Linked DNA regions of Homo sapiens: regions 1, 2, 3, 4, 5 and 6 are each linked to region 7. Evidence: promoter capture Hi-C in 16 types of primary human blood cells and fetal thymus (Javierre and others, 2016). All regions are on one chromosome and are shown on one strand. Each heading gives the region's core, a stretch centred on a gene start or on the middle of the fragment in contact. The rest is flanking DNA. Distances are from core to core; before and after follow the strand shown.

Region 1 (2,700 bases), core at 73-2,572, 850 kb before region 7:
GAGTCAAAATTTATGATTGACATAAGGTGATCTCTGCTAAAGAGTGAAATATCTGCAAATTTGGCCCCACATGAAGAGAAACTTTGGTTACCAGTTACATGTACGGGCACATCCAGTTCTTGTTTACTTAATTTATAAGCTTGCAAAACACTTCTCTTCAGAGATGGGGCCTAAGAGGATTATTGTAAATCAAGAGTATAAAATACTCAATCTGTTTATCAACACTTGTTTCCACAGTTTCAAACAGGATTTGCTGACCCTAAGCTCTGAGATAGGGGTGACCTGCATTGCTGTTTTCAGAAAGCCCCAAGTCATAGTAAAAGAGACACATGGTTCTTGATTCAGAAGGATTTGTCCACTCTTCCAAACAGCTAACTTCATTTCAAAAACAGCTATGCCTGTTTCTTTCTAAGACCGGAAGCATAAAGGGTCCCATAGTTTTAGAATATTGTACTCATAGATCTAATAAGACACAGATGCACTTTCCTTTGTAAGACAATAAAAGAAAAGTGGAAGGAAACCGAACTAACATTTACTGAATACCTACTAAGTATCTGGGCTGGACATAAAAGAGTCATCAAAATATAGACAGAAATGAAGTCAAGAGCATAGCTGAGATCATCTTGGAAGAGATGGCAAAGAGAGAAGAGGGCCAGGAAGCTAGCTGTGACAAAAATTAATGTTAATGGTCAAGAAAAGGACTATAAACTCAAGAAAAGTGGTTAGGAAGGAGGAATCAGAGATATAGGGAGAAAACAGACAGGGTGACATTCCAGAAAGTCAAGGAAAGAGAATGTTAAAAGGAGGAAAAAGTGATCACTGATGCCCCATGCTGCTGAGAACTAAAGAAAGGGGAATAAAAAACATCCTATGGACTTAGCAAAATAGAGGTCACTGATAACCTTAATATGAAACGTTTCAGGGGGCTGATGGTGACAGAATTCAAACTGCAGTGGGCAAGGAAGGAGTAGGAAGTGGAGAAGTAGAGACCAAGAGTACAGGCGATGCTTTGGAGAAACTCCACTCTAAACAGAAGGAGAAATACAGGAAAGTAGCTGGAAGTGGGTTTGAAGTTATGTGAAAAGAGGTGGGATTTAAATCCAGTTCTGACTCCATCACTGAGTTCTGTAAGTTGCTGCTTCTGAACCACCCGATACTGTTGTTTCTCTGAGTTTGCATGGTAATCCATAAATTCTTTCTTCTTTTTATTATGATTTGCAACAGAAGCTACTCAAATGAAGTTTATCTATAGAAGAAAGTTCTGGAAGTTTAGAGTATGTCATTGCAAAACTAAATATTCAGTAAGTTTGTGTTACACACTAAAATGTTCATATACAGACATTCCTGTGACCTGCTTTCATCCTATTAATGCCTGTAAAATGAAGTAAGTAGGGTATCATTATTGTAATTTATGGATGAAGAATCTAGTAGTCATTGAGACATTCAGGGCAGAACAGGTACAAGAACTCAAGGACTCTAATTCACAGTCCCTGTCCTTGCTGTTCCTCCATGCTTTCCATAAGAAGGCAGGCAAGGTATGAATGACTGACGTATGCTGCTTGAACCCATAGCAACCACCACCAAACTTCCTCCTCTTACAATCATTAGTAGTAATAGTAGTAGTTGATATGGTTTGGCTGTGTCCCTACCAAATCTCATCTTGAATTTTAGTTCCCATAATCCTCATGTGTTGTGGGAGGGACCTGGTTGGAGGTAATTGAATTATGGGTGTGGTTACCCTCATGCTGTTCTTGTGATAGTGACTTCTCATGAGATCTGATGGTTTTATAAGGGGCTTTTCCTCCTTTTGCTCAGCACTTCTCTCTCTTGCCACCATGTGAAGAAGGATGTGTTTGTTTCCCCTTCCACCATGACTGTAAGTTTCCTGATGCCTGCCCAGCCCACAGAACTGTAAGTCAATTAAACCTCTTTCCTTTATAAATTACCCAGTCTCAGGTATTTCTTCACAGCAGTGCAAGAATGGACTAACAGAGTAGTAGTGATCATCATTATTGTCACAATTCAGTTTACAAGGCCCCGTCAAATATATTACCTCTTCTAAACTCAAAATAAATCCTTAGAGGTGTTTCGGGTTGATTCTCCATTACTATCCTATGTTATAATGAAGAAAATGGGTTTCACACAATGATACATGTTGGAGCTGAGATTTGGATTCAGGTCTCCAGACTATAAATTTAGTGCTCTTTTCTTTGGCTTAGTGGTTTATAAATGCTTAAACCCTTTAAGAAAATAATGACCGTTATGGTCCCTTCACAGAAATACATGCAGAATTATGTAATCAGCAGAACAGTACACAATTTAAAGAGGTTCATTGATGATCCGAAATTAGGAATCCCTTTTCTAGGTTATATGGTCTCTATGCCACTAATATGCTAGTTGGTAAGGTTATGTGACATAATCCCTCTCAATGGTAATTGTAATTAATGACTAATTGCAATGGCATTATAACTAAAGACTCCTAGAAGGGAATGCCTATGAAGCTTTTCTTAAACTCCTTGTCAAAATCAGTCCTCCTTTTCTACACAGCCTGATAACACACTACGTATATTTTACTACAGTATTCATTTATTCTGCTCTGTGTAGGTGTGCTGATCCTATTAGAATGTAAGTCACTTAGTAGAATGGAAATGTCTAATATACTAACTACAACAATCATTTATTTATTTATTTATTATTTAT
Region 2 (2,839 bases), core at 122-2,621, 790 kb before region 7:
TTACATAAGTATACATGTGCCATGGTGGTTTGCTGCACCTATCAACCCGTCATCTAGGCTTTAAGCCCTGCATGCATTAGGCATTTGTCCTAATGCTCTCCCTTCCCCTTTCCCCCTACCCCCCGACTGGCCTCAGTGTGTGATGTTCCCCTCCCTGTGTCCATGTGTTCTCACTGTTCAACTCCTGCTTATGAGTGAGAACATGCAGTGTTTGTTTTTCTGTTCCTGTGTTAGTTTGCTGAGAATGATGGCTCCCAGATTCATCCATGTCCCTGCAAAGGACATGAACTCATTCTTTTTTATGGCTGCATAGTATTCCATGGTAAATATGTGCCACATTTTCCTTATCCAGTCTATCATTGAGGGGCATTTGGGTTGGTTCCAAATCTTTGCTATTGTAAACAGTGCTGCAATAAACATATGTGTGCATGTGAGAATGCTTTTTATCACCACAACTGTTCAGCATAATACCAGAGGCCCTAGCAAACACAATTAGACAAAAATTAACAGCAAAAGAAGATATAAAGAAGGGAAGAGAGAAGCAAAATTTGCAGATGATATGATCTTGTATATATAGCTCATACTGTCCTCTATGTTTGGACCACTTTTTTCCTAACCAAAATATCACAGATATCACTTCCTTACAGAAGCCTTCACTGACCATCCAAACCATATGAGAATATTTAGTGTTGTACCTAAAAATTACTGTAACATTTATAATGCATGCAGAGCATATATAATACATGCACATTTTAAAAAAATAAGAAAGTTTAGCAAGGTTAGTGGGTAGAAGATTAACTTTTTAAAAATCTGTGGGAATGTAAACTAGTACAGGCATTTTGTAAAACAGTATGGAGTTTCCTCAAAAAAATGACAAATTACCATGTGATCAGGCAATTCTACTTCTGGGTGTATCTAAACGAAATGCAAACAATATGTTGAAGAGATGTCTGCACTCTCATGTTCACTGCACCATTATTCACAATTGCCAAGATATGAAATCAACCTAAATGTCCATCAACAGATCAAGAAAATGTGCCATAGATTCAAAACAAAATACTATTCAGTCTTAAAAAAGAAGGAAATTCTGTCATTTGCAGTGACACAGACGATCCTGGAGAACATTATGCTAAGTAAAATAAACCACACACAGAGGGATAAATACTGCACGATTTCACTTATATGTAAAGCTTAATAAAGTTGAACTCATAGAAGTAGAGAGTAGAATGTTGGTTATTAGGGTGGGGTTGCCAAGGGGTAAAGCAGAGATGTTGGCCAAATTGTACTAAGCTTGGGTTAGACAGGAGGAATAAGTTTTGAAGATCTGTTGCACAGCATGGTGACTATAGTTAATAAAAATGTATTGTATATTTGAAAATTACTAAGAGAGTAGATTTTAAATGTTCTCACCACAAAAAAGTATGTGAGGTAATGAATATGTCAATAAGCTTGATTTAATCATTTTACAATATATAGTATATCAAAATTCACATTGAACCCCATAAATATATACAATTTGCATTTGTCAGTAAGAAATAAACGATAAAAATAAATTAACATACACTTTTTAAAAACCATAAAAGATAACTATTTTTCTCAGCAACCTATATTAAACATAACTAGCACTGATTTTAGTATATTAGCATTTGGAAGCAAATTTGATGTATAAAACTTTGCTTCTTTTCATTGGAAATCTCACAGGTATTATTCATTCATATTAACAAATAATTTACTTTCTAAAAAAAGTCAAATATATTTCTCTATTCCAGAAATAACCAAATAGGAAATATAATAGAAAATTCAATGTAATTCATAAAAGCAATGAAAAATCACTAAACAGAAATTTGATTTCTTTTATCTTTGTTCCTTCACTATACACAGAGTGCAGAAGTACTTTATATTTTCCAAATAAATTAATACTTTATTTTTATGTACCTTAAAAAACACATTTAAATGTCACTTCTTTCCATAAAGGGTATGGTAGGCTGAATAATGGCTCCTGAAAAGATCACCATGTTCAAATCCCTGGAACCTATGAATGTTACTCATATGGCAAAAAAATAAAAAAGAAAGAAAAAAAAAGGACCCACAAATGTGATTAAGGATCCTGACATGAGGAGACAATCTTGGATTATTTGAGTTGGCCTAAATGCAATCATAACTGTTCTTGTAAGAGACAGGGAGAGGCAGATGTGACCACAGATGAGGAGGAGGCAATGAAACCACAGAAGGCAAGGCTGGAATGATGTGGCCACAAGCCAAGGAATGCCAGCAGCCACCAGATGCTGGAAGAAGCAAGGAACAGGTTTTCCCCTGGAACCTCCAGAGGGAGTACGGCCCTGTTGACACTTGATCTTGGCTGAGTGAAACTGGTTTTGAACTTCTAGTCTCGAGAACCATAAGAAAATATATGTGTGTTGTTTTAAGCCACCAAGTGTATGGCAACTTGCTACAATAGCAGCCATAGGAAACTAATACAAAGAGTTTGAGATATTTTATCTACCACTCCCACAAACATACATACACAGATAATATAGTACAGAGTGACTAGAAACAGTAATGCAAGACAATTACAGCAAAAAGAAGAATGGAAATATGCTATGTAGTAGAAGGCTCAACAGTTTAGCTTGAGTGTTAAATTTTTAACTCTGAGTTTCCTTGGCTTCCAGGGCCAGAAGAAAAATGTAATCCATTATATAGCTTTTATTACTGGAAAGATGAAAATACACCATTTGAGATTGAACAACACTTTTCCAAATGGTAAATTCTAAAATAAATTCTCAAGTGGGATTTTATATGGGGCACAATGAGTGGTATATTAACTCATGGTTATGCCAAA
Region 3 (2,707 bases), core at 87-2,586, 870 kb before region 7:
TTTTGTACATTTGATCTCCCAAATCTCTTTTGAATGCATCTCCTTTTCTTGATCCTTACTGTCATTCACTTCCTTAATTCAAGCCACCATTATGTCCTTCCTAATTGCTGACAGAGGCCCTGAGCAAATCTCACTGTTTCTAATTGTGCTCCTTTCCATACTAGAGCTAGATCGACTGTTCTTAAATGCAAATCTGATCGTGTTACTCCCTGTAAAACGTTCTCCCCATTGCCCTCATTTCACAGTAGAAATGCGTTCACTGTCTCATGTGCTTCTTCCTGGGCTCGCCCTTGCTTCTTCTCCAGTGTTTACTCTTGTCCCTCCTCACTCTGTATCCTATGCTCCAGCTATGCTGAATTATTTATCTAAGTCTGTTGATGCGGGGATTCCTACATTCAGTAGAGCTACCTGCTGACAGTTTTTCTTGGCAAATAATTGGGCAATCAGATTAGAATGATGGCTTTGATTTTTTAATACACAAGAAGATGGAAAATTTAAATGAGAGACACGAGAAGAACTCTGGCGCTGAATCATCCTAAGCCATTAACTGTGAAAGAACATCCTTCACAAAGTTTCCCAGAGACCTAAGCATATGGTAAGAATTCTGGAACTCAGAGAGAACATGAACAATGCTGACATTATGGAACTTTATTTCACAGTGAGGAAATAATGTGCCTAAGGGAACACAGAGAATGGACACCAGAATGTAGGTGTTCTGATGGTCTTTGCTCGTCTTACTCACCAAAGCTCTAATGTCCAGTGCTGTGCCTGGAACATAGTAAGCACTCAGTTAATATTTGCTGAGTGACAATTCACTCAGCACTGTGAACTATGAACCAGTGACAATTCAATGCTTCTTTTCACCTTTTAGACACCACTTTCTCTCCTTATGTCCTATCCTTCTTTGTTAAATTCTACAAGTACAGGTGGACAAAGTTTACTGCCTCAGCTCCTCACACAATCAGAGAGGAGGAGACCATGCCCCAAGAGAAAAGAACACTGGAAGAACACTTTTAGTTACTTGCTCCATGTTGCCACCTGCCCTCCACCATCCCTAAACTTACCCTTTCTCATCAGAGAAGTGGCTTTTATGAGAATAGGGTAAAAGGAAGGGTCCCTGTACCTCATATAGAGCCTTTGTCTTGAGTTTGAAAAAGGCACCCCATCTGGGAGTATGAATTATAAAAAGGTGCAGAGTAAGCAGGATTTCAGCCTGGTCATAGCCCCCTGAGTGGAACACTTTCTGTGAGCTGCCTGCACCATGCTGGCATGCAGTGGTCCTGGCAATGATCACTAGTCATGAACACCAGTCATGAGCTGAACATCCCTGAGCTGAACACTTTCTGCGAGCTGCCTGCACCATGCTAGCATGCGGTGGTCCTGGCAATGATCACTAGTCATGAACACCATTCACACACGGTTTCTCTGTCTCTCCTGTACTGGCCTGGCCTCAACAGCACCTCTGCTATTAGGTCTCCTAGGGAAGTTGCTGGGCCATGGCTTAGTGCACTGTTCTAGAGCCTGTCCAGGAGGCTGCCTCCCTTTGGCTTCCTCTCTCTGGTCATCAATGGGAAGAGGATTAAGCCATGATCCTCTGTGTGGCTGACCCACTCCTGAAGACCAGATTTGGATGATTTTTGTTGGGAGTGGGGGTAAAATATGACTTTGTATATAAGATGCATTCCCCTAACAATATTTATTAGGAACCCCAGTGCTTTGTATAATAATACTGATAATGTAATGGGTTCTGATATCCTTCTCAATTAGTAAGAATCCATAAGAGAGAAGAAAGGGTGTGACATAGCTGGATTTAACTTCCTTAATCCCCAGCAGATATCCACGAGAATTTCCAAAAAGCATTGGTATTCATGCAAAAAGATATCACGGACCCTTCTCTAAATTTCCAGTGCCTCCAGAGCTCAGAAATCATAGAGCAGAAACGGGAGGATAATTTTTTTCCCCAGAAACTGAGAATGATATAATCAATGTAATTGAGCACTAAATTTAAATCCTGAGCTTGCTAGCAGCTATGGCAAAAAGGGACACATGAGGGTGAAATAGCTTTTTTTCTGATAAATAAAACATAGCTATCCTTGAAGGGAGACAAAATTATTCCTGGGAAGAAATTCTAGAAGAGATTTCTTGCATGGATCATAATATAGAAGGTATTCAGTATCAAAAGGGAAGCCACAAACACAATTCTCATACAACCGTTTCCAGTATTCCCTCACCACTAACACTAGAGCCATGGTATTGAAATGTGACTTAGTGAAAGATATTTATCTCTCAAGTGCAAAGACACTGTGGTCTGAGGTCCTTGTTTCCTTGACATCTCATCTGATATGCAGATGATCGTTAAGTCCATTTAATTTTCTCTCAAATACCAGGGACCTCAGCCCAGTCAACCCATGACGGAACTTTGCAAGGAGTGCCATGAAGACTGCTTGAGAGGCTACAAAGGACCCTCGGGGAGCTGTCTTCGAAGGGAGGTGGTGACAGTGCCCTGGGAGTGCCAAAGAAGTCCTGGGAGAGGCACAGCTTTGAAATGGCTGAAAAGGCTAGGATAGGCCAGATGAACTGATTCCCTAGCTGGAGGCTGAATGGTTCCAACAAGAGGAAGTGGAGAGGAAGCATGAGTAGAAGGAGTGTGTTTATTGATGTGCCTGTGCCTATTTTGAATGTTTGGGCGAGACAGACAAATGTGTAG
Region 4 (2,700 bases), core at 140-2,639, 980 kb before region 7:
CCTCCCCCAGCTTTTGTTCTCTTTGGCTCTTTTGAAAGCCACATTTATGTTCTTCGCATATGGGAAGTATTTTTGGTCAAAATTTAAAACCTGTAATGCGTTCCTTGGCAAAATGATTTGCTAAGCAAGTCTGGCTTTAACTTGAAAGAAAAGCTTTCAGTAGGCAACAAAACAAAAATCTCACAAACCACTCTGGCCACACTGCAATTCTTATTCATCAAAGCTAAATATACTTTACATGCATGTATTAAATAAAACCACCTTTCTCAGTGCAAGGAGGTGTGTATTGGAGTGATTAAAATTTTTATTACTGAGCCACACGTGGTTTCTAATAGAATTATATATAGACATTTATATTTTTTCCTAACACGGTGGCTTTATAGTAGGAACCAGAATGATTTTCTTAGGGATTAACCTCCTAGCTAGGAGGCAGAGAGAACCATGGAGAAACAATATTTGTAGAGTGCCTATTGTCTGAAAGGCATTGTGCTAAGGGCTTTATCCACAGTTCTTTCACTGAATCCTTACCACCAACCCTAGGAGGTAGGTAGCAGAATGATCCCACCACAGAGGGAAAGACTGAGGCTTAGACAGGTTAGCTATGTTGCCCAAGGTCTTTCAGCCCTTCTCCTTTCTATCAAGCTGCTCCTCACTGTTGAGATGCCAAAGGTGTCCTAGTGTTGCCATGTGTTTTTGCCTAATTTCTGTGTGTTTTCCTTTCTCTATAAAGCAGTGAAAACTCAGGTCAGGTTTGGTTTGGATACGAGTTTGCTTGAAAGAATGGCCAGCACCCGGAGCTTGGCAATCAACAACATGAGCACTGCAACTAAAGAGCAGGTGGTGGGCAGGATTCCTCTCCAGCTGTTACAGTGGGGTGATACCTAAAGTTTTGCATCCAGGCAGATCTGGATTTGAATCCTATCTCTGCTACCATCTGGTGACTCTGGGCAAAGTGTCTATCTTTTCTGAAACTCAATTTTCTCAACTATGTCTTTTCTGAAACTCAACTTTCTCAACTATAAGGTGGAGATAATGCTGCCTACCTCACAGTGCTGTAGGAGGATTGGAGAGGACATACAACAAGGACTTGGCAGATAGTTGGTAATTATTCATGCTTTTATGTCTGCCTTTTGTATCCACAGACAACCACCGCATTCACCAGGGTTTTGTGTGAGCAGGTCCAGGCCTGCCCGTTTCTCAGTGAGTGATAATCAGCTTTTGCAGCTGAAGCCTGTTTGACCATAGACCTGACATCTTGCTTAGATCCTGCAATACCCGACTCCTCTTCTGTAGTGATCCCCAATCCTCCTTTATCCCTAGTGCAACCTCTGGCTAGGATCTATGAATGCACTGGGCTTCCTTCTGCTTTTAGGCCAGCTAGATCAGACACGCACACCCACCTTCACTCGGGGCTATGCCTAAGGTCCCTATATCCTTTGGATACTGTAGAATGCTATTGCAGAGCTGACCTTCATAACTGGGGTGCTCACCCTTCTCCATGCTTACTACAGTTACTATTTTGAGCATCTTCTAGGAGCAGAGCCCTGTAATAACACAGGCATGGACCATGCAATTGAGCCGAGTGCTTTATATGCATTATCTCCTTTAGTCCTCATTATAATCCTGTAAAGTAGGTACTATTAACATATTCAGGCCAGGTGCGGTGGCTCACGCCTGTAATCCCAGCACTTTGGGAGGCCGAGGCGGGCGGATCACGAGGTCAGGAGATCGAGACCATCCTGGCTAACATGGTGAAACCCCCGTCTCTACTAAAAATACAAAAAATTAGCTGGGCGTGGTGGCGGGTGCCTGTAGTCCCAGCTACTCGGGAGGCTGAGGCAGGAGAATGGCGTGAACCTGGAAGGTGGAGCTTGCAGTGAGCAGAGATCAAGCCACTGCACTCCAACCTGGGCGAGAGCAAGACTTCGTCTCAAAAAAACAAAAACAAAAACAAAAACAAAAAAACCAACAACAACAACAACAAAAAAAACATATTCATATTCAATACCTATTCATTTCAAAATGAGGAAACTGAGACTTAGGAAGATTAAGGACCTTTCTCCAAGTCACCCATCTAGTAAGAGGTAAGACCAGGCCTAGGATCCCAGGCCAGGGCTCATAGCTGTTACACCATATTGTTTTTCATCCCACCTTCTCCTTCCTCCTTTTCTGACTGATGGGCTCCATGCAGCAGGTACTTTTTTTTTTGTAATTGTAGCATTTCTCATAATGTACTGTCATCAATCTATTTGTCTATGTCTCTCATTAAACAGGGAGGTTCCTGAAGGCAGGGGCCATGTCTTATTTATTCCTGTAGACCAGTGCTTACCACAACATGTGGCACAAAGTACTCCAGAGGATGTTTATTTACTGAATTATATTGGCTTTTTCTTCTCTACCTGCTGTCTTTTGCTGAAGTCTTAGCATGTCCTCTACCCACACTCATTTGAGCTATGACAGCTCTCAAATCAACGTTAGCAGTTACTCTTGGGTCTGAAATTATGTGTGGGTGTTGACATATTTATGTATGTATATGTATGTGTATGTCTGTGTGCGTTTGTGTGTCTGCTGTGGTATCAACTAAAACAGCTAGTTTTCCCAGTGCTTGTCTACATCAAAAGCTTTTAGCCATCAGGTTTCTTCAGTTTCCTTTAATCTGGAAACTTCCCACAGCCTTTCTTTGTCAGTATGACATAGATA
Region 5 (2,700 bases), core at 15-2,514, 940 kb before region 7:
TAGAGATCTTTCACCTCCTTGGTTAGTATATTCCTAGGTAATTCATTTTAACTGTGAATATTTTCAAAGAACTTAAAACAGAGCTACCATTCAATGTAACAATCCCATTACTGGGTATACATCCAAAGGAAAAGAAATCATTTCACCAAAAAGACACATGCACTCGCATGTTCATTGCCATGCTATTCATAATAGTGAAGACATATAATCAACCTAGGTGTTCATCAATGGTGGACTGGATAAAGAAAATGTGGAACATGTACATCACAGATTACTATGCAGCCATAAAAAAGAAAAAAATCACGTCCTTTTCAACAACGTGGAGGTAGCTGGAGGCCATTATCCTATGCAAATTAATGTAGGAACAGAAAACCAAATACCACATATTCTCACTTGTCAGTGGGAACTAAACACTGAGCAGACATGGACATAAACATGGGAACAAGAGACACTGGGATGTCTAGAGGGGGACAGGAGGGAGGGGAGACATGGGTTGAAAAACTACCTATTGTGTACTATGCTCACTACCTGGGAGAAAGGATCTGTACCCAAACCTTAGCATCACACAATATACCTATGTAACAAACCTATACATGTACTCTTTGTATCTAAAATAAAAGTTGAAATTAAAATTTTAAAAAAGCAGAAGAAATAATAAAAATTAGAGCATAAATCAATGAATTTAAACACAGGAAAGCAATAGAGAAAAATCAATGAAACCAAAGCTGGTTCTTTAGAAAGAGCAATAAAACTGACAAACCTTTAGCCAGGGTAATCAAGATAAAAAGAGAGAAGTTACAAATTACTAACATTGGCAACTAAAAATAATTTAGATGAAATGGACTACTTCTTTGAAAGACAAAAACTATCAAAATTTACACAAGAAATAAATCATCTGAATAGAGCTGTATCCACTAATGAAACTGAATCAATAATTAATTACCTTCCAAAAACCAAAGTGCCAGGCCCAAATGGTTTTTACTAGTGAATTTTAGCAAACATTTAAGGAAGAAATTATACCAGTTCTTTACCATGTCCTCCAGGAAAATAAGCAGAAGAAAAACTTACTGGCTCATTCTATGAGGTCAGCATTACCCTATTACCAAAACCAGACAAAGACATTAAAAAAAGAAAGCCAAAATCCACTCTCTCTCATGAATATAGATGCAAAATATTCTTAATATAATATTAGCAAATCAATCCAACAACGTGTAAAAGGAATTATATACCACAACCAAATACGATTTACTCCAGGTGTACAAGGTTGGTTCAACATTCAAAAATCAGTCAATGTAATCCATTACATCAACAGATTAAATAAAAACAATTATATAATCATGTTGATAAATGAAGGAGAAATATTTCAAAAAAATCTAACAATCATTTTTTATTGTGATTAAAAATTAAAAATTCACAGCAAACTATGAATATAGGGGATTTTCCTCACCTCGATAAAGAACATGTACAAAAAAACTCTACAGCTATTATCATACTTGATGGAAAACTGGATGCTTTCCCACTAAGATCAGGAACAAAGCAAGAATGTCCTTTCTCACCACTCCTATTCAAGACTGTACTGGAAGTCTTAGCTAGTGCAAAAAGACAAAGAAATGAGAAGGCATACATACTGGAAAGAAAGAAAGAAAACTGTCTTTATTCTCAGATGACATGAATGTCTATGTGGAAAATCACAAAGAATGAACAAATCAACCAACCCACCCAATGAGAACACCACCAAATCCTGGAACTAATAAGCAAACAAGTAAGGGTATAGGATACAGGGTTAATATTCAAGAGTCAATTTCTTTCTAGCAATTACCATTGAGGAAAAAATGGAATTTGATTAAGAAATAACACTTAAAATAGCATGCTGCAAAAAAAACAAAAAACAAAAAACAAAAAAAACCCCCACAAAAACACTTAGGTATAAATCTAACAAAAGTACACAGAATCTATATGTGGAAAATTACAAAACTCTGATGAAATAAATAAATTGAATTTTCAGCGAACTATTTTTAAGTATCCATAAAATGATTCTAAAATTTATATGGAAAGGCAAAAGATCTACATTAGTCAACATAATACTAAAGAAAAAGAACAAAGTCAGTGAACTGACACTACCCAACTTCATGACTTACTGTAAAGCTACAATAATTAAGACAGTGTAAGGTTGGGGAAAGAAAAGACAAATAGATCAATGGAACCAAGGAGAGAATCCAGAAATAGACACAAATAGAGTCAACTGATTTATTCCTTTTCCAACTCCTTTGACAAAGGAGTAAAGGTAATTCAAAGGATATAGTGTAATATTTTCAACAAGTCATGTTTGAAATATTGTATGTCCACATGCAAAACAATGAATTTAGACAGTGACATTAGACATTCTGCAAAAATTAACTCAAAGTGGATCACATATGTAATTGTAAAACACAAAACTATAAAACATCTAGAAGATAACAGGAAAAAATTTAGGTGACCTTGGGTTAGGTGATAAGTTTAGATACAAAACCAAAAGCATAATCCATGAAAAAAATTGATAAGCTGGATCACTAAAATTCTAAAACTGCTCTGCAACAGACATTTTTAACAGAATGGAAAGACAAGCCACAAACTAGAAGAAAACACATATCTGATAAAGAAACTTGTATCTGAATATACAAAGAACTCTTAAAATTCAACAATAAGTAAACAAGCAATGTA
Region 6 (2,851 bases), core at 48-2,547, 960 kb before region 7:
AATTTTAGGCTGGATGCAGTGATTCACACCTGTAATCCCAGCACTTTGGGAGGCTGAGGTGGGAGGATCGCTTGAAACGAGTTTGAAACCAGCCTGGGCAAGATAGGGAAACCCTATCTCAACAAAAACATAAAATAAAAATTAGCCAGGTGTGATGGTACGTGTTTGTAGGCCCAGCTACTCAGAAGGCTGACTGAGATAGGAGGATCCCTTGAGTCTGGGAGGTTGAGGCTGAAGTGAACCTCGATTGTGCCACTGCTCTCCAGCCTGGGCGACACAGTAAGATGCTGTCTCAAAAAAAGGGAAGTTTTAATACCTATTTTATAGGCCTATTGGATGGACTAAATGCTTAAAAGTGCAGATATTGTTATTATTACTATGTACCTATCAACTGAAATAAACTTTATTTTCCCAGAAACTTTATTGAAAGGTAAGTGTTGCCATGTGTGTATGTTTCAGGTGGGTTGGGGAAGGTGATAACAGTCATTATTCTCAGGCCTCCTCATTATCATTTCCAGACAAGTATTCCTGCAGTTGCAGGCAAAAAAGCCTGTTCCTCTGAGGTTTATGCCACCTAATGATGGAGATACAATGACACATGTCTCCCCTGCATCTCACTGCTGTCACTGTCAGCCTCTTGTTTCTGTCCCTATGTTAAATGAGGCTAAGGCTCCTAGATCACAAGCCTCCCTATCTACCTGGAGGTTTATCATTGTCCTGGACAACTTCAGCATCTGCTCATAAGACCCATCCAATGTTCCACTGTTAGACGGTTTCAAAATGTTTCCACCTCCGGGACCTTCATCTCCATTTCACTTCAATACTCCCACAGCCCCCCTTGAGACTGCTATACTTATGAATATTACAATATACCAACAGCCACTTTCTGAATTCCATTGCCCTTCAGTCCAATTCTCTCATGTACTCTATCATTCTTAGCAAATGTCCTTCTCCACTTTAAAGCAACTTCCAGAATCTCCATCACTTCATTTTCTTTCAATTCATGTGCCCTGTCTGGCTCTAATTTCTTCCATAGCTAGCTTAGAGTCCATCATCTTTTGTGTCATTTACCGACAAGAATCTGCAATATTCTCTTAACTGCCCAATTCAATAGCTACCTTCAGTCCACAGAAACATTTAGCCAGGATATGCTTCACTTATGGCTACAAGGGACAAAATCTGCTTCGGAAGGAGCAGGCCAATGGGAGACTGCAACTCAAGAAAGTGAAATATCATGAAAGGCCGCAGGGTCTGAACACTTTTGAAATTTGCACTGCCTGCTTCAATAGTAATTCCTTCCCATGATGATCCTTTGGCCAGCAGATCAGCAACCAAATCGACAGCAAAGAATCAAAATGTGTGATAATATTAACATAATGAATAATGATTGAGCTGCAAGGGATGTTGGTTAGTCACTAGGCCAACTGCTCTGGGTTTAGGCAGGTGAATAATCGAAGCTAAGAGGCAAGGAATCTATCCATCCATCTATCCCTCCATGCTCTTTCAAGTTCCCTGCTTTTGGATCTCCAATTCTTCTAAGCGAGAGCCATTTTGGTAGTGGGGCCTAGATATTCTGGCCTAGACTTTGGAGCTGGCCTTAGACTGTTTACGATACAGAAACCCTCTAGCCAAGCCAGAATCCATTCCAAACCAACTTCCAGAGGAAAAAGACAAGCAAAGACATCGAATCTGAAGCCAGGAGTTGAGAGGCTAAGGATGGTACCAAAGTAAGAGAAGGGCTAGAAGCCAGGAGCATAGAGAGAGCAGAGGTCAGACAGATAGAGTGACAGGTGTGGAATGCAGGTCCAAAGCAAATCACTGTAGTGCCCTTTTAAACTCTCTTTATTATGTGTTTATAATCTCTTCCATGTTCCCAAAGCTCACTGATTTTCCTCTGTCTTATCATTCAGCACACAGTAGGATAAATGTCTGTTTTCTTACGTCTCCCCACTGGACTGTGAGATGTCAAAGGGTAGAAGCCATTAACTTTCTCTGTATTCCCCAAAATTGATATAAATAATGCAAAAATGTAATAAATACATGTTGAAAGAATTAAATGAATGAGTAAATGGATTAATGAATTAATGAATGAATCAGGGGTAGGATCCAGGATATCTGTATAAAGCAAGTTTAGGATCTCCCTCAGTTGTACTTTTTGGTATTTCCTGCCAGGTCAACACATTCTTCATTGTCCGATGTCAGACAGTTAGGATCACAGGCTCTAGACTGGCTAGATTAGAACTTTGACTCTTTCACTAGCTAACAGAATGGCTTGGGTGGGCCGGGCGCAGTGGCTCACGCCTGTAATCCCAGCACTTTGGAAGGCTGAGGCGGGTGGATCATCTAAGGTCAGGGGTTCGAGACCAGCCTGGCCAACATGGTGAAACCCTGTCTCTACTGAAAATACACAAATTAGCTGGGTGTGGTGGCAGGTGCCTGTAATCCCAGCTACTTGGGAGGCTGAGGCAGGAGAATCGCTTGAATCCAGAAGGCGGAGGTTGCAGTGAGCCGAGATCGTGCCACTGCACTCCAGCCTGGATGACAGAGGGAGACTCTGTCTCAAACAAAACAGAATGGCTTGGGCCTTAACTAACCTCTTTGTCCCTCAGTTTACTCATCTGTAAAATAGAAGTAATAGAAATAATTACTCATAAAGTTAAAAAAGAAAATGCATACAAACCACTGAAATTAGTGCCAGTCACAAACTAATAGTTTCAAAAATGTGAGTTATTTTTATTCTAAAAATTATTACATCAATCTCCACCCCAGCGCTACACAGGATCTTGTAATGTTCTCTTGAGTGATACTATTTAAAGACAGCACTTCCTAATCTGCTGCTGCATGTGACATG
Region 7 (2,700 bases), core at 182-2,681:
AGGGAAATGAAGCTCGGAGGAGTTCCGTGATTTGCTTGCTTCACACTGTGGTAGCCTGGCCACGAAAGAACCAGGATTCCCGACTTCGGGATTCTTTCCACCACACACTTTCGTCCCTAAGGGGTGGGGGGCGGGGGGAGAATAAAATAACCGCGGAAAAGGAACCACTTACATGTGTCTAGCGCTTCCTAGAGGCTACCCAGGATATGCGCCCACCACCCGGCCGGGAGTGCAGAGATTTGAAGTCCAGGTTCTACCCCGGGCTCCGAGTACTACTGCGTGACTTTATGCGAGTGTCCGCCGCCTTCTGGGCTTGTTTTCCCGGAAGCAACTCGGCGCGGATGGAGTGTGTGTGTGCGCGCGCGCGCGCGTTATGTTGTGCGTGTTGTGTTAAGCGTGTGCGTGTTGTCCGGGGGCGGGAGGGGGAGTAGACTAACACCGGGGTTCCCCGAGTTTCGGATCGCCTACACGCTTGTTCCCATCTGGACCCTGTTACCCACCAATTGCGCCCACTATAAAAACTGCCCCTCCGAGGCAAAGCTGTGAACCCCCGCGCCCTTTCCCCCACGGTCCCGGAGGATGAAGTGGGGTGCAACGGAGACTCAGCTGAGCGTCCAGTTTCGGGCAATACAAATCTCTCGGCTTCTACGAGCAGCCAGACGACCCCGCGGACCGTCGCTCCTGAACTTGACCGAGATGCAAACTTCGGAGTGTTCTCAACGTGGGGGGCCGACTCTCGGGAGACCGCCCCTAAACTTAAGTCCCCTTAGGCTCGCCCCCACCTGGGACTTCACAGAGCCACCTTAAGGGCGGTATTCCCGCCCCCCCGGAAGTGCGGGGGGGTGGCAGCGTACTTGGATTCTCAGCCTCCAGCCCCGCGCGGTGGCGGCCGCCGGTGGATGACTTCGGGCCCCACAAGTGGGGAAACAACAACCACCCCTCGCCCGCACCCCTGGCCCAAAACAACTGGCCAGGTTCCCTGGCCTCCCGGGTCCCTGCATCCCCCGCATCCCCGTCCGCAGCCGTGAACTTGAGCCCCCCTCCATCAGAGGTTGCGAGCGTCCGCCCGCTCGCGGCAGCCACCGTCACTAGACAGTCAAACCCCAAGACGTCAGCCCACAATGCACCGGGCGGGCCGGGAAAAACGGCCCGGGGAGGGGACCGGGGAAGAGAGGGCCGAGAGGCGTGCGGCAGGGGGGAGGGTAGGAGAAAGAAGGGCCCGACTGTAGGAGGGCAGCGGAGCATTACCTCATCCCGTGAGCCTCCGCGGGCCCAGAGAAGAATCTTCTAGGGTGGAGTCTCCATGGTGACGGGCGGGCCCGCCCCCCTGAGAGCGACGCGAGCCAATGGGAAGGCCTTGGGGTGACATCATGGGCTATTTTTAGGGGTTGACTGGTAGCAGATAAGTGTTGAGCTCGGGCTGGATAAGGGCTCAGAGTTGCACTGAGTGTGGCTGAAGCAGCGAGGCGGGAGTGGAGGTGCGCGGAGTCAGGCAGACAGACAGACACAGCCAGCCAGCCAGGTCGGCAGTATAGTCCGAACTGCAAATCTTATTTTCTTTTCACCTTCTCTCTAACTGCCCAGAGCTAGCGCCTGTGGCTCCCGGGCTGGTGTTTCGGGAGTGTCCAGAGAGCCTGGTCTCCAGCCGCCCCCGGGAGGAGAGCCCTGCTGCCCAGGCGCTGTTGACAGCGGCGGAAAGCAGCGGTACCCACGCGCCCGCCGGGGGAAGTCGGCGAGCGGCTGCAGCAGCAAAGAACTTTCCCGGCTGGGAGGACCGGAGACAAGTGGCAGAGTCCCGGAGCCAACTTTTGCAAGCCTTTCCTGCGTCTTAGGCTTCTCCACGGCGGTAAAGACCAGAAGGCGGCGGAGAGCCACGCAAGAGAAGAAGGACGTGCGCTCAGCTTCGCTCGCACCGGTTGTTGAACTTGGGCGAGCGCGAGCCGCGGCTGCCGGGCGCCCCCTCCCCCTAGCAGCGGAGGAGGGGACAAGTCGTCGGAGTCCGGGCGGCCAAGACCCGCCGCCGGCCGGCCACTGCAGGGTCCGCACTGATCCGCTCCGCGGGGAGAGCCGCTGCTCTGGGAAGTGAGTTCGCCTGCGGACTCCGAGGAACCGCTGCGCACGAAGAGCGCTCAGTGAGTGACCGCGACTTTTCAAAGCCGGGTAGCGCGCGCGAGTCGACAAGTAAGAGTGCGGGAGGCATCTTAATTAACCCTGCGCTCCCTGGAGCGAGCTGGTGAGGAGGGCGCAGCGGGGACGACAGCCAGCGGGTGCGTGCGCTCTTAGAGAAACTTTCCCTGTCAAAGGCTCCGGGGGGCGCGGGTGTCCCCCGCTTGCCACAGCCCTGTTGCGGCCCCGAAACTTGTGCGCGCAGCCCAAACTAACCTCACGTGAAGTGACGGACTGTTCTATGACTGCAAAGATGGAAACGACCTTCTATGACGATGCCCTCAACGCCTCGTTCCTCCCGTCCGAGAGCGGACCTTATGGCTACAGTAACCCCAAGATCCTGAAACAGAGCATGACCCTGAACCTGGCCGACCCAGTGGGGAGCCTGAAGCCGCACCTCCGCGCCAAGAACTCGGACCTCCTCACCTCGCCCGACGTGGGGCTGCTCAAGCTGGCGTCGCCCGAGCTGGAGCGCCTGATAATCCAGTCCAGCAACGGGCACATCACCACCACGCCGACCCCCACCCAGTTCCT

The links. Contacts are between HindIII fragments. The CHiCAGO score rates a contact against its expected background, and 5 or more counts as called.
Region 1: a fragment that was not itself captured here is called in contact with the fragment with the promoter of JUN in region 7 in 1 of 17 cell types (neutrophils); the score reaches 6.5 in neutrophils.
Region 2: a contact is called between a fragment that was not itself captured here and the fragment with the promoter of JUN in region 7, in 4 of 17 cell types (fetal thymus, total B cells, naive CD4 T cells and 1 more). The highest score is 7.0, in fetal thymus.
Region 3: a fragment that was not itself captured here is called in contact with the fragment with the promoter of JUN in region 7 in 4 of 17 cell types (neutrophils, naive CD8 T cells, naive B cells and 1 more); the score reaches 7.5 in neutrophils.
Region 4: a fragment that was not itself captured here is called in contact with the fragment with the promoter of JUN in region 7 in 9 of 17 cell types (endothelial precursors, M0 macrophages, megakaryocytes and 6 more); the score reaches 16.5 in endothelial precursors.
Region 5: a contact is called between a fragment that was not itself captured here and the fragment with the promoter of JUN in region 7, in 9 of 17 cell types (monocytes, neutrophils, megakaryocytes and 6 more). The highest score is 11.2, in monocytes.
Region 6: a contact is called between a fragment that was not itself captured here and the fragment with the promoter of JUN in region 7, in 9 of 17 cell types (M0 macrophages, M2 macrophages, endothelial precursors and 6 more). The highest score is 26.9, in M0 macrophages.

What each region holds. Positions count from the first base shown.
Region 1 is chr1:59,629,219-59,631,918 of GRCh38, reverse strand. The region is part of intron 10 of FGGY (FGGY carbohydrate kinase domain containing); the gene reads right to left. Among named protein-coding and RNA genes, the nearest start is that of MIR4711, 100 kb to the left of the region's middle. The HindIII fragment of the contact is 2,362 bases long and covers 142-2,503 here.
Region 2 is chr1:59,573,683-59,576,521 of GRCh38, reverse strand. The region is part of intron 8 of FGGY (FGGY carbohydrate kinase domain containing); the gene reads right to left. Among named protein-coding and RNA genes, the nearest start is that of MIR4711, 160 kb to the left of the region's middle. The HindIII fragment of the contact is 158 bases long and covers 1,293-1,450 here.
Region 3 is chr1:59,656,179-59,658,885 of GRCh38, reverse strand. The region is part of intron 11 of FGGY (FGGY carbohydrate kinase domain containing); the gene reads right to left. Among named protein-coding and RNA genes, the nearest start is that of MIR4711, 76 kb to the left of the region's middle. The HindIII fragment of the contact is 6,293 bases long and covers 1-2,707 here.
Region 4 is chr1:59,763,687-59,766,386 of GRCh38, reverse strand. No RefSeq gene overlaps it. Among named protein-coding and RNA genes, the nearest start is that of MIR4711, 32 kb to the right of the region's middle. The HindIII fragment of the contact is 2,468 bases long and covers 156-2,623 here.
Region 5 is chr1:59,724,820-59,727,519 of GRCh38, reverse strand. The region is part of intron 14 of FGGY (FGGY carbohydrate kinase domain containing); the gene reads right to left. Among named protein-coding and RNA genes, the nearest start is that of MIR4711, 7.1 kb to the left of the region's middle. The HindIII fragment of the contact is 8,352 bases long and covers 1-2,700 here.
Region 6 is chr1:59,743,949-59,746,799 of GRCh38, reverse strand. All of the region lies in intron 14 of FGGY (FGGY carbohydrate kinase domain containing), which reads right to left. Among named protein-coding and RNA genes, the nearest start is that of MIR4711, 12 kb to the right of the region's middle. The HindIII fragment of the contact is 3,397 bases long and covers 1-2,851 here.
Region 7 is chr1:58,782,778-58,785,477 of GRCh38, reverse strand. JUN (Jun proto-oncogene, AP-1 transcription factor subunit) reads left to right here and starts at 1,431. Exons shown (of 1, transcript NM_002228.4): 1 at 1,431-2,700. The coding sequence starts at 2,408. JUN-DT (JUN divergent transcript) reads right to left here and starts at 327. Exons shown (of 2, transcript NR_108106.1): 1 at 173-327. RefSeq lists enhancers at 240-985, 1,212-1,471, 986-1,733. The HindIII fragment of the contact is 7,855 bases long and covers 1-2,700 here.